Regions from separate parts of the Homo sapiens genome. Here all the other regions are linked to region 3. The links are contacts of gene promoters, found by promoter capture Hi-C in blood cells and fetal thymus (Javierre and others, 2016). All regions are on one chromosome and are shown on one strand. The core of a region is centred on a gene start or on the middle of the fragment in contact, and the rest is flanking DNA. Distances in the headings are between cores, read along the strand shown. Region 1 overlaps STX17 (syntaxin 17). Region 2 overlaps NR4A3 (nuclear receptor subfamily 4 group A member 3). Region 3 holds the start of ALG2 (ALG2 alpha-1,3/1,6-mannosyltransferase). Region 4 has its middle 32 kb from the start of STX17-DT. Region 5 overlaps ERP44 (endoplasmic reticulum protein 44). Region 6 overlaps NR4A3 (nuclear receptor subfamily 4 group A member 3). Region 7 overlaps STX17 (syntaxin 17).

Region 1 (2,775 bases), core at 77-2,576, 690 kb after region 3:
GAGTTGTTTGAGTTTCTCATACATTCTAGATATTAGTCCCTTGTTGGATGACTAGTTGGCAAATATTTTCTCCCTTTATACAGGTTGTGTCTTTGTTGATTGTTTTAAAGAAATAATTATAGGCAGCAGTATGGATTTATGTGTAAGCAGGGTAATTACACTGTAGTTTATAATAGTGGAAAATTAGAAACAACCTAAATAGCCAATAATAGCCAATTTGTAAAATTGTGAAGCATCTACGTAATTATAGAAAATTATTTACATGGAAACATTTTTATTATACTTCATCACACTATTCAAAATAAATGTTTTATTTTCTTTGTTCTTTCATCCACCCATTTATTCTATCCGTTAACAGTTTATTCTATTCATTGCTCCTTGCTATTCCACTCCTTTGGGTTTATTTTCTTTATTGTTGAAATATTCCTTTAAGTACTTTTAATGAGGGGCTTGGTAATAAACTCTCTTAGTCCTTGTATGTCTGAAAATGATTATTTTGCTTTCATTTTAAATGATAATTTACCTGGGAATATACCAACTCTCTCAGCACTTTGAAGGTATTTCTGTCTTTTAATATCTTGCTTTTAAAAGCAATATATTATTGCTTTGTCAGTCTTTTATGTCTCATTTTTTTAATGATTCTTGTTCTTTAATGTTTTGCAATTTCCCTTCCATGTATTTAGGCAAATTTGGTTTCTTTTTAATGTATGCTACTTGAGGCTGATGTGCTTTTTCAGTTTGAGGTCTTACATTTTAATTATCAGTATATTCTCTTTGAATAATTCCTTCTTACTGTTTTCTTTGTTCTTTCTTTCTGGGACTTCTACTTGTTATTAAGCTTCTGATTTTATCCTTTATGTCTTTTATCTTCTTTTTTATACTTTTCATCTTTTTATTCCTCTGTGTTCTGAGTGATTTCTTCCAATCAATAATTGTTTCTTATCTATATAATTTACTGTTTAACACATCTTTTGAGATTTTCATTTCTAGAAGTTTTACTTGTTTTATATTCAGGCTGGCCTCTTACTGTTTCATAATATCTATTTTTTTAAAAGATTCTGTTCCTTTTTGGAATAGAATGTTTTTGGATATTTAAAAATATACTTACTTTAGTTTCTTTTTAAAATTATTTTATTATCTTTCGTCCATTAGGTATGAATTTTCCTGTTTTGTTGGGTCTGTGGATGGTCTCTTTTGGTAATGAATTTCTCCATATGTCCCCAGTTTCCATTCACTGTTGCACCTGTTTTACCCTCTTTGTTTTTGTACCTGGAGATTTTCCTTTTTGACTTTTGAGCCTTGTATCAAACATAAAAACCAAGTTACTAATGGGTAGGTATTGGAGGCAGTCTATATAACCAACACATCAAGATTTTCAACTGTGAAAGAAAGGGGATAAATATTTAATGTTTTGGGGATGATAGATCTCTGAGAATCCCTTGAAACAATGGACTCTATTCTCCAAAATAAACTATATTCACTTTTTTTTTCTTTTTTTTTTTTTGTAGAGATGGGATTTTGGCATGTTGCCCAGGCTGGCCATGAACTCCTGGGCTCAAGTGGTCCTCCCGCCTTGGCCTCCCAAAGTGCTGGTATTACAGACATGAGCCACCGTACCCGGCCCCTTCATTCACAATTTTTCATAAAGATTCAGTGGCTCCACAAAGTCTGTATGTGAATTCCTATCTTTATAGACCCTGGACTAAGACAGCATAACTCAGCAGTATTAACATACTCAACTTAAAATTTTTTAAACATGGGTGAGGTTGTGGCTAATGAAATGGCATGAAAGCATGGTGTACAATGGTGGCTTTCAAGCTTGGTTAAGCTGTGAAGCCCATTATTTATATAAGCTCTGATAAGCTCCAATTCATAAAATAGTTGTAAGTAAAGTTTCTACAACTGAAGTAGGGAGTGGAGTCCTGGAACCTACTCACCTCTAGCCCCTACGCTTGTACTCTGGCCCCAAATGCATACCCTTGGACTTTCTGGAACACTAGTAGGAAACTACTGGTGAAGTGGAAAAAGTATTTCAATGTAATTTCAGAAAATCTGGGTTCTTATTCCAGCTCTGTCACTGGTTTTTTGAATCAGTTGTAGGCAATACTAATCACTTTATTGAAAATGGAAGAGGCAGTTTAAAGCACATCAATGAGAAAAGTTGCATATTATGTTATCATATATTTGAAGTTGTGTAATTACAAAGTTACATTATGATGACATTAGACATGAAGTTTGATACAAGCATCAGTGTTAAGCCATTTGATACCTTTTTTAAAAAGGTTATTCAATGTCCAAGATAGATCAGAAAATGAAAACTTGGACAGTATACTCCTAGCTTTTTTAAAAGTATTTATATACATACATACCTACTTACATAGAAAAAGACCTGGAGAGACGTATGCCAAAATGTAAAGAGTACATTTTGTACTCTTTGTAAAAGGTGAGGAGATGACTGCTGACTTTATTTAATTCTTCATTTATTTATATTGTCTGAACATTCTAAAATATAATTTTTGTAAAGAGAAAAAGATTTAAAAATCAGTGGTTTCATAAAGAAAAAAACAAGTCACTCAAGGTCAGCATTAGAAATATTCTATTTATTGATTTAGAATAAATTGTAAAACTAATCGTTGGCTTTTAAAAATAGTGGAAACAGATTTGAAAACATTCTTAAAGAAATATTTTTCTTTTAGGTTTTTCTATATGAGTGGAGAAGACAGCTGTTACCAGGGAGGTCATACAACATTTTTTTAGGATGTCTGAAGATGAAGA
Region 2 (2,869 bases), core at 329-2,828, 630 kb after region 3:
CCCAAAGAGGTAGCATCTAGACATGAGAAGACATAAAGAACATTCCAGATGAAGGAAAGAGAACAGCAAGGGCATGGCAGTTGAATGCCTCAGTACAGTTTAGGGTTAAAACAATTACAGTGGAGTTGCATTGTGCATATATTAAAATCACACATATGATACAAGTAGAAAGAGGAGAAAAATTAAGAGTGCAGGCTATTGCATTTGATGACTGTATGTCCTGGAGTGAGCATGAATCCACTGTAGGTCATGGTTTCTCTGCCTCTGGTGATGAGTGGTGAGATGATGTCTTGTGCTTTTGGGAAAGTTAAATGATTTTCAGGGATAAAACTAATTCTATGTGATATTTACCTTCTGGCTTGATGTGATGACCTAACCTCAGAGCAAAACGCTTTTCCTGTACAGAAATAGGGGAAATAAGATTGGAAAGATAGTTTTGAACCAGATGGCAGAGGGAATCTCAAGTGCTCAAATGCCATTTTGTTGTTCCCCATGGCTTTCTTTTCCCTACTCAGGTCATCTCTCAGGTGAGAAAATGACTCCTTTCTCGTCTGACTCTAGTCTTTTTCCTGGTCTTATTGAAACACGACCTCTAAGACTGAGAAGGAGGAAGGAGGGCAGAACCATGGCAGAAAGTAGTGAAACAGTGACACAGCAGGACTAGACAGGTGGCTGACCACGGCACACCCTCCACCATCTGTCTTTCCAGAGCTCCACTGCTCACTGTAAATGGTTACCTGGTTACCCCTGCTTTTGCATCAGATAAAGCCATCAGCTACATTGCAAGGAAAACTAAATATCAAACTTAGCGGGGCAAAATAGTTAAAAACAAAAATGGTGGGAGAGGGGAGAGGCCACAGGATTTAGAGACCGGAGATCTGAGTTCAGGTCTTCACCCTGAAATGTGCTGTCTTTGCAATCTTGGACAAGTTCCTTACCCTCTCTGAATCTCAATTTCCTTCCTTCTCACAGGGTTAAAGATGTCTACTTTCAGGTTTCTTATAAAAATTGAATGAACTAATATGTACTATGCAGAAAAAAAATTAGACAAACCTTCACTGTTATTATTTGTTTTACACACTTCCATGAAGAGCCAGCTGTCTTGCTAAGAATCCATAAAAGTGTTCATGCATCCCTGCAACTGAATATACACATTGTGTTAGGGAATTTCTTTTTTTTTTTTTTTTTTTATTATACTCTAAGTTTTAGGGTACATGTGCACATTGTGCAGGTTAGTTACATATGTATACATGTGCCATGCTGGTGCGCTGCACCCACTAATGTGTCATCTAGCATTAGGTATATCTCCCAATGCTATCCCTCCCCCCTCCCCCGACCCCACCACAGTCCCCAGAGTGTGATATTCCCCTTCCTGTGTCCATGTGATCTCATTGTTCAATTCCCACCTATGAGTGAGAATATGCGGTGTTTGGTTTTTTGTTCTTGCGATAGTTTACTGAGAATGATGGTTTCCAATTTCATCCATGTCCCTACAAAGGATATGAACTCATCATTTTTTATGGCTGCATAGTATTCCATGGTGTATATGTGCCACATTTTCTTAATCCAGTCTATCATTGTTGGACATTTGGGTTGGTTCCAAGTCTTTGCTATTGTGAATAGTGCCGCAATAAACATACGTGTGCATGTGTCTTTATAGCAGCATGATTTATACTCATTTGGGTATATACCCAGTAATGGGATGGCTGGGTCAAATGGTATTTCTAGTTCTAGATCCCTGAGGAATCGCCACACTGACTTCCACAATGGTTGAACTAGTTTACAGTCCCACCAACAGTGTAAAAGTGTTCCTATTTCTCCGCATCCTCTCCAGCACCTGTTGTTTCCTGACTTTTTAATGATTGCCATTCTAACTGGTGTGAGATGATATCTCATAGTGGTTTTGATTTGCATTTCTCTGATGGCCAGTGATGATGAGCATTTCTTCATGTGTTTTTTGGCTGCATAAATGTCTTCTTTTGAGAAGTGTCTGTTCATGTCCTTCGCCCACTTTTTGATGGGGTTGTTTGTTTTTTTCTTGTAAATTTGTTTGAGTTCATTGTAGATTCTGGATATTAGCCCTTTGTCAGATGAGTAGGTTGCGAAAATTTTCTCCCATGTTGTAGGTTGCCTGTTCACTCTGATGGTAGTTTCTTTTGCTGTGCAGAAGCTCTTTAGTTTAATTAGATCCCATTTGTCAATTTTGTCTTTTGTTGCCATTGCTTTTGGTGTTTTGGACATGAAGTCCTTGCCCACGCCTATGTCCTGAATGGTAATGCCTAGGTTTTCTTCTAGGGTTTTTATGGTTTTAGGTTTAACGTTTAAATCTTTAATCCATCTTGAATTGATTTTTGTATAAGGTGTAAGGAAGAGATCCAGTTTCAGCTTTCTACATATGGCTAGCCAGTTTTCCCAGCACCATTTATTAAATAGGGAATCCTTTCCCCATTGCTTGTTTTTCTCAGGTTTGTCAAAGATCAGATAGTTGTAGATATGCGGCATTATTTCTGAGGGCTCTGTTCTGTTCCATTGATCTATATCTCTGTTTTGGTACCAGTACCATGCTGTTTTGGTTACTGTAGCCTTGTAGTATAGTTTGAAGTCAGGTAGTGTGATGCCTCCAGCTTTGTTCTTTTGTCTTAGGATTGACTTGGCAATGCGGGCTCTTTTTTGGTTCCACATGAACTTTAAAGTAGTTTTTTCCAATTCTGTGAAGAAAGTCATTGGTAGCTTGATGGGGATGGCATTGAATCTGTAAATTACCTTGGGCAGTATGGCCATTTTCACGATATTGATTCTTCCTACCCATGAGCATGGAATGTTCTTCCATTTGTTTGTGTCCTCTTTTAGTTCCTTGAGCAGTGGTTTG
Region 3 (2,878 bases), core at 213-2,712:
GGCCAACATGGTGAAACCCCATCTCTACTAAAAATAGAAAAAATTAGCCGGGCGTGGGGCGCGCACCTGTACTCCCAGCTACTCTGGAGGCGGAGGTTGCAGTGAGCCGAGATCGCGCCACTGCACTCCAGCCTGGGAGACAGAGCAAGACTCCGTTTCAAAATAAATAAATAAATAAATAAATTTTTGCTGAAAAAGATGCCTAATAGTAGGTATGTCATAATACCAATTATGTACCAATAAGAAGATATAGATATACCTATGAAAAGACACAGGCTGGTGTCACCACAACTTCTGAAAAAATACAAGAGAAACTTAACGGTGGCTATCTTCAGGGAGTAGAATAGGACGGGGCTTTTAGGTTACATCCTTCTATACTACTAAATTTTTAATCGAGTAAATGTTACTTTTTAAAGTCATCTTTTTTAGGATGGGGAAAAATGCACGAAGGAAAGAGTCAAGAATAGCTACAGGGCAGATCCAGGTGGACATTATTTACCAAGGTAAAAAGCTTGAACTTTTCTCCAAAAACCAATGGGGAGCCATGTACAAGTTTTAATAGGGGCATGATATATTCAGCTTGGCGTTTTTAACACATGACACTGCTGAGGACGGTGTGGCCTGGCTCCGAACACAAGGACAGTGGGATGCAAATGGCCTGAAAGGAGAGTCAACAAAAATAACAGGTAAGCGGGAAGACAACACGCGAGTTACTCATTAGTAAAAGGTGACTGAAGCTGACTTCTAATACCAGCGTTTCTCAGAGCCCCAAAGACTATCTACCTCGGAATCACCCTATGACCCAGTTAAAATGCAGATGTCTGGGCCCCACCTCAGGGCACCTGGATGAAAACTTCCTGGAGGATGGAACCCCAGCAATCTGCAACTTTAAATGGGCCCACACTAAAGTTAGAGAACCACAGGCTCGCTCACAACCCTGACTTCTCCATGTCAGTTCCGATCTTTGCGAACCGCAGACAGGGAAGGTCTTCTCTCAGGGGTCATGCCCGCGGCCGCCCTCCACGGCGAGGTCCGCACTCGCGCAGCCGGCCCCGCGGCCGCCTCACCTGGTCGCACACTACCACGTCGAACTCCTCGTCGGCGAGGAACAGCACGTAGAGCGCCAGGAAAACCATGCGCACGTAGGCGCAGACGGCGGCGCCGCGGCCGCCCCAGCCCAGGCCTCGCGGCAGCCAGTCCCCGGCACAGCGCACCGGTAGCTCGCGGCTCTCGGCGAAACAGTGGCCCGGGTCGTAGTGCGCTGTCCAGATCTTCACGCTACACCCGCGCGCCTGCAGCGCCAGCGCCGCGTCCAACACCAGCCGCTCAGCGCCGCCCACGCCCAGGTCTGGGTGGAGGAACAGCACCGACGGCTTGGGAACCGAGTCCCGTTCCCGGCCCTGCTCCTCCGCCATGGCCCTGGAGCCGCAACTGCACCCCGCACCCTGATGGGGGTCTTCTGCGCAAGCTCCGCGCTCGTAGCTCCCAGCTGGCCACTGCGGGCCGACCCCGCCCTGCCGTACGTGCGTCAGTTAGGCCACATCAGCGCAAATCTGTGAGGGTCTAGTAACTGCCTGAGAAAATATCTTGTCTGACCCCGGTTATATTTTTCCTTCGGTAGGGATTGGACTTTCTGAAGGACGTTGTGATCCAAAGGAAGGAGGCCGGAGGTCTCTACTTCCCATACAGCAGGTAACTAAGTTGTCTGTAGCAGACTGTCTACAGGCATATCGTGAGACGACCCAGGCGTCCCTGGGGTCAGAGAGGACCTTGCCTGCAAGTCCGGGGGCGGGGCCTGAGTCAGTCTCGCCAGCTGCCGGTCTTTCGGGGGCTCCGTAACTTTCTATCCGTCCGCGTCAGCGCCTTGCCACCCTCATCTCCAATATGGTATGGCGGCCCTTCCATGATCCCCGCCTCTCCCAGAAGCCCTGACTCCTCCTGCTTTGCGCCGTGCTTTTCCTCTGTAGCTCCCTTGCTTCCCCCAGCCTCGGGTGTGGGTGTCTAGGCCGGGGTTCTGGGGCAGGCCTGCCGCGCTCACCCGTCTGTCTGCTTGTCTCCCTCTACAGCCTGGTCCGACCCCCAGTGGCACTAACGTGGGATCCTCAGGGCGCTCTCCCAGCAAAGCAGTGGCCGCCCGGGCGGCGGGATCCACTGTCCGGCAGAGGTAAGGAACCCTGCAGTTCGTTCGCTTCCAGACTCGGAGATAGGACCCAGAACCTCGCTGATTCTGGGGTGGAGACCCTAGCATGTGAAGATTGACAAAGGCAAAATGAGCTTCTAGTGACGTGGCCGTGGGAGTAGTTAAAGGCCTTTTGGGAGGAAGGCGACATTTTTTTTCTCGTTGCTCAGTTTAGGGCACTACTCTTAAAAAAGGAAAGTTAACAAACTGGAATAGAGTCAGAGATAACTTTGAGAAAACCGATGTCATTAAACTGGTGTCTCTGGACCTGAGGTTTGCACTCACATTTCCATCTGGCGGCCCCATAAGCAATCTGTCCTACAGATAACTCGTCCTACACAAAACTTAGTCTCTTTTCAGCTCAGCTCTCTCACTCTCAATTATATCTCCTTACTTCCATATGGCACTGTTGTACACTCATTTACTCAGAGCCAGAAACGTCAGCGTCATCTTGGATTTTTCTTATGCTCTTTCTCTCTCTAGTCATATGCCAGACTTTAAACTCTGCTTGAAAGCTTTCTCATAAGCTCTTTCCTTTTCCCTTTCTACTGCTTTGCATTTGCTACTTAACCCTTTTCTTCAGGCTGTTTGCTTTCCAGTCCATCGTTCGCTCTGCTGTTACTCTTCTGCGTAGTTTCTGTTACTTGTTGCTGAACTAAAAAAAACAAACAAACAAAAAAAAAAAACCGGGGGGATACC
Region 4 (2,820 bases), core at 311-2,810, 650 kb after region 3:
CATCTCTCCATCCTTTTATCTGGAACGTGGATGCCACTTTAGACTATGGAGATAAGGGTACCTCCTAAGAACTGTAGCAAAGGAAGTTGGAAGGAATCAGCCTTGAGGATTTTACGGAGCAGAGCAACCCTATCTGAGCTGGATTGCACGTAAGTAGGCTTTTCATGAGAAAAAAAATAAACTCCTTGTTAAACCACTGTTATTTTGAGTTTTTCCATTACTCAAAGCTGAATTGTATCCCAGCTGAGACACACAGTATGCAAGAAACATGGTTCATCTACAGCATAGGTGAAAAAATAGTCAGGAGTATCAAGGATAGTGACTCAGCGTGAATCACTCATGTTTTGAGGCTACCAAAAAAAGCCAAAGACATCTTAGGTCACAATTATTTGTTTATTTATTCATCCTTTGATTCATTCAACCTTAAACTAGGCCCTGTGTTTCGGCTTCCTCATAGTCTCATAGACCCAATGATGCCTGCCCTCTCAAGGTCTTAATTCTTTCTATTGTGTAGTTTTTCTCTTACTGCCTTCTAATTTCACCTTCACCCCTAACCACCTCATCTAGTATTTTCCAATTTCTATTCCTGAGAAAGAAAATCTGACTGATCTGGCTCAATTTGTCATGCGAGGCCACATTACAGATGCCTGGACAATCTGAGGAGTAGCTGTCCTTGGGTAGTCCCTGATCCAGTCAGCTGTGGTCCTTCAGAAAATATTGTGACTTGAATAGTTTCACTCTGGAGGGACTGAGAATAAAAGGGCTCTATGACTATCAAGTCTGGTATAGGAGGAAGCTTGACTTGACTCATGGGGCCAATTGCAGGGGGCAGGTTTGGTAGAATCATTCCTTCTTGATTCCCTTACTGCCTAGCACAATATTTGGTTCACTGGAAACCCTTAGAAAATGCTTGCTGAGTGAATTCAAGTTAGATATTCGTTGATGGGAGTAGGAGCTGGAAAACATGTCAAATTCCCAAGAAATAGATGATGTCATAATTTCCAAAATTGGTATCCAGAGCCAAAGAATCAAGTTTCATCTTTTTCTCAACTTTAATGTAAAAGAAAGGGGGGTGGGGCGGAGAGAGAGAGAGAAAATCAACACAACCCCAAGGAAGGTTTGTTTTTTTCCTTTCCTTCGGAAAGCAGCTGTCAGTTTAACTTATCCCAAAATACTGTCAGTGATGAGCATGACTGAAAATGCGTTTTATCTGTAATTAGAGAGATTACATTAAACACTATTATTTGCAGACACACATTGAATTAACCCTAATCGAGGCTAGCAAATAGTAGAGCCTGCCTATTTTTCCCCTCAAAATTTTTAGAAAATTGTGACAGTTGACACACAAGGGACAATGCTGACAAGATTTCTTTCCATCAAATGCCAGACAGTAATTGTAATTGCCTTTAAAAATGTTTTAAGCAGTTTCGTTAGTAAATCAGAAGTTGCCACAAATCATGCTGATAGTTTCTAAACATGGGGGTTGTTGACTGTGCATTCCAATATGAGTTTAATGAATTGATTTTCTGAGGAATTTAACTTTGCATCTGTTTTCAGGTATAATTAATTCACTCTGATTAATGTGATTAGCATAGATATCAGTGGATTACACATGATACCCTTTATTTATTCACTTATTTTTAATCTGCCATACTGTCCATTGGGAAATGATAGAAGTGATTTTTGGGAAAACATCTTGCTGGTGGCTCTGATCACATTGGATTTCTGCAAAGCAGAATCCTGGAAGGAATTCACTGATTATTCACAGCCTGTGCAGCAATGTACTTTTGTTTGAGGGACTTATTAAAGTTTACACAGTCCCTGCCTTTAAGGAGCTTATAATCCAGAGGAGAAGATGAGACAAACATTCCAATGCAAGTCACTCACAAGGAAGAATGACTGTCCTCAGATTCTTCATTCTCTCAGGACCCCTCCCCAACTCTCTTAAAATAATGCTATTATCTAGGGTAAACTAATGCTTCCCATTCTCCTGAGCAGTCTTATTCATGGCTCCAATTACCACTCCCAAATCTGTATCTCCGACTCAGTCCTGTCTTCTGAGCTCCAGACCTCAAGGCTCCAGATGCCTCCAGATACCTTCACCTGGATATCCCAAAAGTACTTCAAATTAAACACACCAGACCCAAATTCATGACCTCCTTCCAAACTTGCTCTTCCATTTGTTTCCCCAATCTCTGTAAATGGCTCTTCCATCCAATCATCCAGGCTAAACTACTACTATGAGTCTCAGGACAGAAAGGCCATTTATTTATTAAGTCCTCAAACTTCAATGTTCATCTTTAATGTTCATTGGAATCATCTGAAAAGCTTGTTATTATTATAATTATTTTGAGACGGAGTCTCACTCCATTGCCAGGCTGGGGTGCAGTGCTGCGATCTCAGCTCACTGCAACCTCTGCCTCCTGGGTTCAAGCAATTCTCCTGCCTCAGCCTCCCAAGTAGCTGGGACTACAGGCGTGCACCACCCACTCCCAGCTAATTTTTGTATTTTTAGTAGAGATGGGGTTTCACCATGTTGGCCAGGATGGTCTTGATCTCTTGACCTTGTGATCAGCCCACCTCGGTCTCCCAAAGTGCTCGGATCACATGTGAAAAGCTTATTAAAACAGTTTCTTGATATTCGTGACCAGAGATTCTGATTTGGTTGCCTGAAGTGGAGTCCATGAATTTGTTGGGAAGGGGACCACATTTGGAGAACCATTACCCTAGAGAATGTAAAGACTGAAGGCACATTTCCATAAACCACTGTATTAGTCTGTTTTCACACTGCTATAAAGAATCATCTGAGACTGGGTAATT
Region 5 (2,700 bases), core at 49-2,548, 760 kb after region 3:
GTAAGTTCACTGTCTAATGAGGAAATTGAAACAAATCAGGATAATACAATAACGGTAAATGACATCTTTTCCTAATCTGATAAAATACTATGCAGGCCTTCTTTTCTGAGGAAAATAATCACCTTTGGGTTATAGCCAACAAGTTTGCCTCCTATAGTTGTTAATTATCAAAAATCTGACCTAATTTTTAAAGGAAAAAGCATGTTGTTGGATTCCTATAGGGAATTCTTGCCTCTGAACCTAATCTCACTCTTAAATAAGGTAAAGAAAAACTCAGTTTTTATTTTCCTTTTATAAATAGAGGTTTTATAGGCAAAATAATGGATTTAAGTTCTGAGCATATGAAATAGAGGGTTTTGGTACATATCTTCCCTCTCGGTATCATGGTAATAGGCATGATAGAAATCATAATCTATCAAAATGCAAACTTAGGGCTGTTTAGTACAGTAGGAACATAGAAATTACTTGTAACAGAAGTTACAAGGTGGAAACAGTAAAATTCTCAGGTAAAAAAAAACATAAAAGAACATAAAATTTTGATAAAATAGTTGTCAAGTATTCTAAATCACAAATGGGAAAGCTGCATTAAACTGTAAGGTTTTGAGCATTATGAATAGTGTATTTGTGAAGGCTCTTAGAATGATTTAGCAAGAATAACAAATCATTACTTTCTTTATAGTGTGGTCAATCTTCCAGCCACAGAGGAAGGCTTGGATAGTTATTGGAATCCACTGATTTCTTCACTGATTTATCTGCTTTAGATTCCTATTTCCTATTCCCATTTGAAGCCAACTATATTTAACTGTTATAGCCATATTCCACAGAGGTCACATCAGAACACTTTTATACAATCAAGAAACTACGTTATAATATTCTTTCAACTTTTCTGAAGACCTAAAGCTTTAAAAATTAATTTAAAAGGTTAATTTCTACTCAGAATTTCTCTACACAAATATTCAGAAGCTGAAGCTCAAGCTGATGCAAGAACTTCAGACCCTCTTTGAGGCTAACTGAAAAAGGGAAAAAAAGAGTTCTCATTGAAAAATAAACAGGAGTCCTACCTCTCCTGGGGCTGTATCAGTTGGGTCAGGTCCATGATGGAATTCTCTGTGCAGTTTTCCAGAATGTAAGTCAAATACGAATTGCTTGAGTTTTCCAGGAATTCTAAAACCAGAGTCAAATAAAATGTAAACTGTTAAAATGGACTTATCTCTATTTTACCAACTTCACAGTATTAAAAAAACTTTTGCTAACCTATAGTCCCACCATCCTACCACAACTATTGCAGGCCAGGTATGTGTGAAACATTTTTACACAGTTGTAAGCATAGTATCCAGATACTCAGTTTTGTATTCTAATTCCTGTACTTGTTTCATAGAAAAATTTCCATGCTTATCATTAAGGCACATTATAGTCTATCAAGATGCTGTACCCCAAATTAACCATTTTTTATTAATGGGCACTTTATATATTTTCCTAAATTACATATATGTAACTAAAAAAAAACTTTGTTCTGCAACATCACACTAAAAATAACAGGGCTCAAGGGAAAAATAGTTAGGGGCTAACCACTGAAAACTATGCAGCTTTGTAACCAAAGCACTACTGCGAACCTATAACAAAAATATTAGCACCATCCAATGTCCACCACCATTTAAACCTAGTGTCAACCAGGTGATCCTCTGCAGCCTTAACGTAAAGCTTGTGAGCCTACTTTTGAGGTTCGGGTCCTTAAGGGCCTTCACTAGACAGTGAAACCAATTTCATCAAATTAACCTGAACCAGGGCATAGCATTTTCATGTTTTTTTTCCTAAACATAGAGGCAAATGTCTTCATAATGTCTTCAAACCACACATGCAACTTCATTGGATAGCTTAATATTGTGAAAAGCAAAGCACTTCTCAAGATCATTAAACTAGCTTTTATTTACACTAACAAGGGGACTTCCCCAGGATTTTCAGTTGTTTTGTTTTGGAGATCTTCATACACCCTTGCGGCATTCTCTTTACGAAAAAGCTTATTCTGATGGCTTCAGGATATTCTGAGGATAATGATATATAAACTGACACAACTTCACTTTCTATGGACACTATTCTCTTAATTACCAATCATGTATGAGCAAATCTGCAGCACAGAAACAATGCACTGTAGCAGACACCACCATACTGAGCTAAACAAATTTATGTACCAGGCTTTCTTCTTTGTAATATTTCCTTGAGTTATATACAATAAAGTAGGATTACTGGGTTAACAAATAAGAGCTTTTGACCAAGTGTGAGCAAATTATACCTATAAAACATCAGTTGGTTTTTACTATCTGTCTACCTGTTTGTTCTTTAAAGTCTTGCCAAGCATGTCTTTTTTAAATTAAAATTGGTTTTGCTAATTTGATAAGTAAAAGATACCTGCATTTTAATTTACATTTCTTCACAAATTAAGCATTTTTTTCATTGCTTGTCTGAATTTATATCTCTGCTCATACGAATTGTCTGCCTTCTGAGATCTTGGTGCTTTAAAAAATTAATTATATATTTTAAATAGAAACACTTTTTCATTCTGTTACAAGAATTAAAATGCAGGTCCATATACACTTTAATTCCTTGGGTAGAATTGATTGACTTTTAAAATCATTATTTTTTTGGTAGCAAACAATAGCTGGCTTGTAGTTAATATTACCAGTTTCTTTTACTTTTTATCCT
Region 6 (2,700 bases), core at 81-2,580, 610 kb after region 3:
TTATTAATGCAGCCCAGGCTTCCCAAATAAATTTCAACTTTCTGCTCTATTTGGAGTTGTATAGATCCAGGTAATTTCTGAACAGTTTCACCCTAAGTGGTAAAAATACGTTCATTTGCACAAATGTTTTCAATTTAAAAAGCAAGCATTTGTTTAAATTTGGAGGACGAAATATGTTTATTTCTCCATGTGTCATTTCCAAATTATATGGATTCTGAAAAATACAACATCATTTTTCTATCCAACCTTAAGTTTTATGATTTTTTTTACAATATGGTTACTGTGTCTATGTCAATAGACATTTATGAAATGACCTATTAATAGGAATTTTCACTGAAAATATATGGCTGTCATATATCTTTCTTTGTCTCATTTTTCGTTTGTACCTTGGGGTTTTTTGTTTTCTTCCTTGGATATAATAATGATTTGTAATAACTACTTTTAAGATTTTGCTTTGAAAAATCAGGAATGGACTGTTTATCATATATGGTCTTTAAAGATAAAATAAGCTATACAGGCTGATTAAGTTAGTTTTTTTGCATTAAAACATTATTTCCTATATGTTTTAATTAGAAAAATCCTGATTTTGGTTTTTATGATTTCATCTCTGTTGGGTAACAAAGCCAGTTACTGTGATATTTGACTTACAATAGTGATAGCAAACAAAGTACATCCCAGATAATTTTGATTTTATTTTAATAAGGTCAGCAATAATCAGGGGAGTGGAACAAGTAGAAAATTGTTCCCAAAGGGATATTAAAAGTGGAGATAATCTAATTCTCCAAGGTATGATATGTTGACCTGGTAATTTCAGATATGATTTTATCATTCAGAGTTGGGTGTCTCCTGAGACTTGCTTTAGAACAATCCGAGATGATTTTCATTGTCAGCAGCTAACACTAATAAAATTGTTTTTCCTGCAGGCTAGCGTTTTAGGAAATTAAATTTATCGAATTATACGAATTGCACTGTCGCTTTTCACATTGTAATTAAAATACATCTTGTCAGGTCCTACCTCTTTCCAGAAACTATCAGTTGACTATCTTGTATTATATTTTCTCAGAGAACAGTGCAGAAAAATGCAAAATATGTTTGCCTGGCAAATAAAAACTGCCCAGTAGACAAGAGACGTCGAAACCGATGTCAGTACTGTCGATTTCAGAAGTGTCTCAGTGTTGGAATGGTAAAAGAAGGTATGGATATAATGCTTTTTACCCAGTTTGCTTATACATATTATCAGAAATCAGTGAAAAAAAGCTAATATTTACATTGGGATGGTGAATTTTTCTAGTTCCTTTTTCCTTTCAACATTTTATTTTTATCATATATATCTACATTTTAAAATAACTGAGGACTATTTATTCTAATTTCTCAAAATTAACAGAGGACTTGTATACATACATCTTTGTTCTATTTAAGAAGGAGACTTTTAGGGCTAATTCATTACCAAATGTAAATATCGGTGGCTTTTATGCTGCTTGTTTCAACTCTCATGAAATCATTGTGTGAATATTATTCCAAACTTATTACCACTTTTAAATGGTTGGTCTCATTAATGATTGCTCAACTGTAATGTGTTTTTATTCCTTTTTGCGATTTATGGTCGTTCATTCCATAATCTTTGAAGATTGTTTTCTTTGTCTCTTTTGGCATCAGTTGTCCGTACAGATAGTCTGAAAGGGAGGAGAGGTCGTCTGCCTTCCAAACCAAAGAGCCCATTACAACAGGAACCTTCTCAGCCCTCTCCACCTTCTCCTCCAATCTGCATGATGAATGCCCTTGTCCGAGCTTTAACAGACTCAACACCCAGAGATCTTGATTATTCCAGAGTAAGTTTTATGATTTCCTGCTTTCAAATGAATGATCAGGGTCTCTATTTATGGCTACTAGTAATAAGAGTTGATTGAATGATTTTGTGTCTGGCACCATGTTAGACAGTTTTCATACTTTTTCTATATTTCTCGCTTCATTTAGCAATTCAGTGCATCCATTGCAGCAAATAATTTTTGCCTTATTGAATCTCTAAATGCCTTAACAAGTGACCCTGACAGTGCTGCACCTGTCATACACATTGTTGCAGGATTCCTGGTGGTTGTGCCAATGAAAATCTGCACAGACAAACTACAATTTGTAGATTTATCTCGTGATCTAGACAAAGTGACTACTGTTTTTTTTCATATTGTGTTCAAACCATCTGGGTGAGCCTCAAGTTATTACTAAGCAGTTTATCCAATTGCATCAGCATTGATTGACCTGCTGCTTATTCAGAGGGATTAGACCATTGGTGGAGAGAAGCGAGCTCTGGCTGTGACATCAGTTGTCAGGAGAACTGGGATGGAACGCCACCTCTGCTACTTCCTGCCTGTGTCACCTGGTTCCTGCTTTTGGCTCTCTCCTGCCTACAGTGGAAATGGCTACAATATTTAACCTCAGAGGGGTGTTCTGAACACCAGTCACACAAGAATGATGGTTGTGAAAATGTTTTTAAGACCATAAATGACGATTGGTGTTGTTATAGTTAAGTCAACCAAAACATATCAACATTTTTATTTCATATGGGATATAGTAAAATCCCATCAGTCTGAACCCTGCAAATTCCTCAAAATTTGGATAACACAGAGAAGAACCATGAGAAAGGATTTCCTGAGCAAATGAATAAACAGCTCTGTAAGGCAATTTCTTTAAAGGACTTAGAAAACT
Region 7 (2,780 bases), core at 254-2,753, 710 kb after region 3:
TTTTTGAGATGGAGTCTCGCTCTTTCGCCCAGGCTGGAGTGCAGTGAGTGATGCAATCTTGGCTCACTGCAATCTCCACCTCCCGGTTTCAAGCGATTCTCCTGCCTCAGCCTCCTGAGTAGCTGGGACTACAGATGCGTGCCACCATGCCCAGCTAATTTTTGTATTTTTAGTAGAAACGGGGTTTCACCATGTTGGCCAGAATGGTCTCAATCTCTTGACCTTGTGATCTGCCCACCTCAGCCTTCCAAAGTGCTGGGATTACAGGCGTGAGCTACTGCGCCCAGCTGATTTTCCAGTCTTTGTACAGGACCTGGTTTTGTTTTTTTGTTTTTTCCCTCTTTGGGAGCTTTTGTGATTAGTTCATCCCTGGTATTCTGAAATTTGATGATGATGTCATTGTGTTGGACTGTTTCTTTCTAAAAATTCATGTGCTTTAGTTCTGGGTAATTTTCTTAGATTTTTCTTTGGTCATTTATTCTTCTGTGTTTTCTCATTTTGCTCTTTTTTTTTTTTTCTTTAATTCTAAAGGTCCGCAAACTGATTCAGAGGCTATGTCTGGCCTCTGTCTATCCCATTTGCTTACACATTTCTTTGGCTGCTTTCACACGGTAACAGCAGAGTTAAGTAGTTGCAACAGAGACTGTATGGCCTACAAAGCTTGAGCTATTTACTGTCTGGTTCTTTGTAGAAAAAATTTGGCAGTCCCTGTTCTATTGGATGTTGGAACTCTTGGGTTGCTTGTCTGATTTTCGCTCTGTTTTCTAAAAGATTTCCTCAGGTTTCTCTTTACCTTTTTCCTTTGAATTCTTTTTTTCTGCTATTATGATATTTAGTTTACAAGAGCTTTTTCTTGTTCTCTTTTCCTTTCTTGATAGCATTTTGTCTATGGGTGTAATAGGTTTTTTTGTTTGTTTTTCTGAAATATTAAAAAGTAGATTGCTTGTCTTCTGGTGGACTTCACTTAAGGATGCTTGGGCAAGCTGGCGTTTTCCTTAGGGATACCTCCAAATATCAGTATCTGGAGGTTGTTCTTATTTAGTTTTCTGAAGAAGAATTCTCATTTTCCCCCTACGGCAGGTAGGTGCTTATCTTACAAAGTTATAGAGGCAGATTAGATAAAGACTTTTGGGCTTTATTCAGTACAGGCTTTTTAGCCCTGTACCTGGTGTTTCTGAATCTAGAGTCAGTTGCTCCAAAGAATACATCTGTGGTCCTCTTGAATTCAGAAAGGTTATTATAGCTGCAGTATAGTGATTAAATTGTGATAGAATGAAATGAATTCAAGAGATCATTAGGAAGGGTTACAGAGGTCCAAGAAAAAGATGTTAGTAGCTTAGAGATAATGGAGATGAAGGAAAACAGATTGATTTGAGATTTAGATGGAAATTTGACTTATCTCTCTATAGCTGTATTTACTGCTTGCTAATTAGATGATAGGTCTAACAAGCAGAGACTATGTCTCCACTATTTGTATATTCTGCAGCACCTGGTGCCCAGCAAGATTTGGTGTCTATTGAATGGTACTCAGCATGTTAATGATTTAATGAGATTATTATGACTTAGATTTCTTACAATCTTCACTGTTTAATCTATCATTTAAAAATCACATGATTTGGTTGAGACATTGGCTATGATCAAAGTATTTGTTTACTGATTTTTAAAATTTGCGTATATATTTACCGTATTGACCTCCATCTGGCATAAAAGATTTATGGGTGCCATTAGAGTAGTAAGATTGAAGCTATTGTTAGATGTAGGTATTTGGTGAGTTTTACTCATATCTGCTCTGAATTTTGTGTATAGATTTCTACTTTGCTAGTTAGTGTAAAAGTTATTTTGGGACAAATAACCTCATCAACAATTATAACAGATTTTCTAGATTTATCATCATTAGATTTACGTAGTAAGAGCTATATTGTCACATTCATTATGGTATCTTGATAAAAATAAGTTCTTAATTTAAATGTAGTTTAAATTATCAATCTTTTATGGTTCCTACTTTGGCGGCTTGTTCAAGAAATCCTCTCTTGGAGGATTCAAGAAGATATTTCTTTATATATTTAACTGAGTGTTTTAAATATTTTGCTTTTAACATTCAAGTCTTTAATCCATCTGGAATTGGTGGTATGAGGTAGACATCAATAAAATTTTATTTTATTCCATCTTGAAAATCACTTGTGTGTTACACTATTACCTGATTTCTGTGGTGCTACTTCTGAAGCACATTGTAATTCCAAAGATGCATGTAACTCCATATGTCTCTGATCTTTATATTCTATTCCATTTGTCAGTCTATTTCTGCACCAAATTCCACACACTGTCTTAATTATGACAGTTTTAAGATAAAGCTTGATATCTGATTGTACAATACTTCCACAGTATCCTTCCTTTTCAGGAGTGTTTTGGCTATACTTGGCTCTTTAGTCCTCCATATGAAATTCAGAATCAGCTTTTCAAAGTCCATACACAGTCTTGTTGGGAAGTTGGGAGTTGCATTGGTAGAGAAAATTGACATCTTTACAATATCTAGTTTTCCTGCCTGTGAATATGGGATATTCTTGCATTTGTATTTATCTTCTTTAATATTTGGGGATCTTTATAGTTTTTTGCGTACAGGTTGTGGTACATTGTACTTTCTAAAGATACCCACAAAAATATCCCCCATCCCACATGGCCTTCTACATTATGACCTTGCTACTCCCCCACCAATAGGTGGAGTCTAATTTCCCTTCTCTTGAATCTGGGCAGAAGTAAAGCTGCTTATTTGTTGACTTGCT

Evidence for each region. Contacts are between HindIII fragments. The CHiCAGO score rates a contact against its expected background, and 5 or more counts as called.
Region 1: a contact is called between a fragment that was not itself captured here and the fragment with the promoter of ALG2 in region 3, in 4 of 17 cell types (fetal thymus, monocytes, naive B cells and 1 more). The highest score is 7.5, in fetal thymus.
Region 2: a contact is called between a fragment that was not itself captured here and the fragment with the promoter of ALG2 in region 3, in 2 of 17 cell types (M2 macrophages and total B cells). The highest score is 6.8, in M2 macrophages.
Region 4: a fragment that was not itself captured here is called in contact with the fragment with the promoter of ALG2 in region 3 in 1 of 17 cell types (M1 macrophages); the score reaches 5.2 in M1 macrophages.
Region 5: a contact is called between a fragment that was not itself captured here and the fragment with the promoter of ALG2 in region 3, in 2 of 17 cell types (M2 macrophages and M1 macrophages). The highest score is 7.1, in M2 macrophages.
Region 6: a fragment that was not itself captured here is called in contact with the fragment with the promoter of ALG2 in region 3 in 2 of 17 cell types (fetal thymus and M2 macrophages); the score reaches 7.2 in fetal thymus.
Region 7: a fragment that was not itself captured here is called in contact with the fragment with the promoter of ALG2 in region 3 in 2 of 17 cell types (M2 macrophages and M1 macrophages); the score reaches 6.8 in M2 macrophages.

Annotation. Positions count from the first base shown.
Region 1 is chr9:99,912,482-99,915,256 of GRCh38, forward strand. STX17 (syntaxin 17) reads left to right here. Exons shown (of 8, transcript NM_017919.3): 2 at 2,697-2,775. The coding sequence starts at 2,759. Among named protein-coding and RNA genes, the nearest start is that of STX17, 7.2 kb to the left of the region's middle. The HindIII fragment of the contact is 980 bases long and covers 837-1,816 here.
Region 2 is chr9:99,852,151-99,855,019 of GRCh38, forward strand. All of the region lies in intron 7 of NR4A3 (nuclear receptor subfamily 4 group A member 3), which reads left to right. Among named protein-coding and RNA genes, the nearest start is that of NR4A3, 32 kb to the left of the region's middle. The HindIII fragment of the contact is 4,775 bases long and covers 1-2,869 here.
Region 3 is chr9:99,220,480-99,223,357 of GRCh38, forward strand. It overlaps ALG2 (ALG2 alpha-1,3/1,6-mannosyltransferase), which reads right to left and starts at 1,463. Exons shown (of 2, transcript NM_033087.4): 1 at 1,068-1,463. The coding sequence starts at 1,415. It overlaps SEC61B (SEC61 translocon subunit beta), which reads left to right and starts at 1,803. Exons shown (of 4, transcript NM_006808.3): 1 at 1,803-1,887; 2 at 2,067-2,164. The coding sequence starts at 1,885. RefSeq lists an enhancer at 1,553-1,872. The HindIII fragment of the contact is 2,183 bases long and covers 510-2,692 here.
Region 4 is chr9:99,873,384-99,876,203 of GRCh38, forward strand. No RefSeq gene overlaps it. Among named protein-coding and RNA genes, the nearest start is that of STX17-DT, 32 kb to the right of the region's middle. The HindIII fragment of the contact is 1,532 bases long and covers 795-2,326 here.
Region 5 is chr9:99,983,906-99,986,605 of GRCh38, forward strand. It overlaps ERP44 (endoplasmic reticulum protein 44), which reads right to left. Exons shown (of 12, transcript NM_015051.3): 11 at 1,062-1,164. Among named protein-coding and RNA genes, the nearest start is that of STX17, 79 kb to the left of the region's middle. The HindIII fragment of the contact is 801 bases long and covers 899-1,699 here.
Region 6 is chr9:99,831,626-99,834,325 of GRCh38, forward strand. NR4A3 (nuclear receptor subfamily 4 group A member 3) reads left to right here. Exons shown (of 8, transcript NM_006981.4): 4 at 1,064-1,193; 5 at 1,657-1,829. Among named protein-coding and RNA genes, the nearest start is that of NR4A3, 11 kb to the left of the region's middle. RefSeq lists an enhancer at 1,351-2,550. The HindIII fragment of the contact is 3,351 bases long and covers 1-2,700 here.
Region 7 is chr9:99,930,990-99,933,769 of GRCh38, forward strand. The region is part of intron 3 of STX17 (syntaxin 17); the gene reads left to right. Among named protein-coding and RNA genes, the nearest start is that of STX17, 26 kb to the left of the region's middle. The HindIII fragment of the contact is 1,691 bases long and covers 659-2,349 here.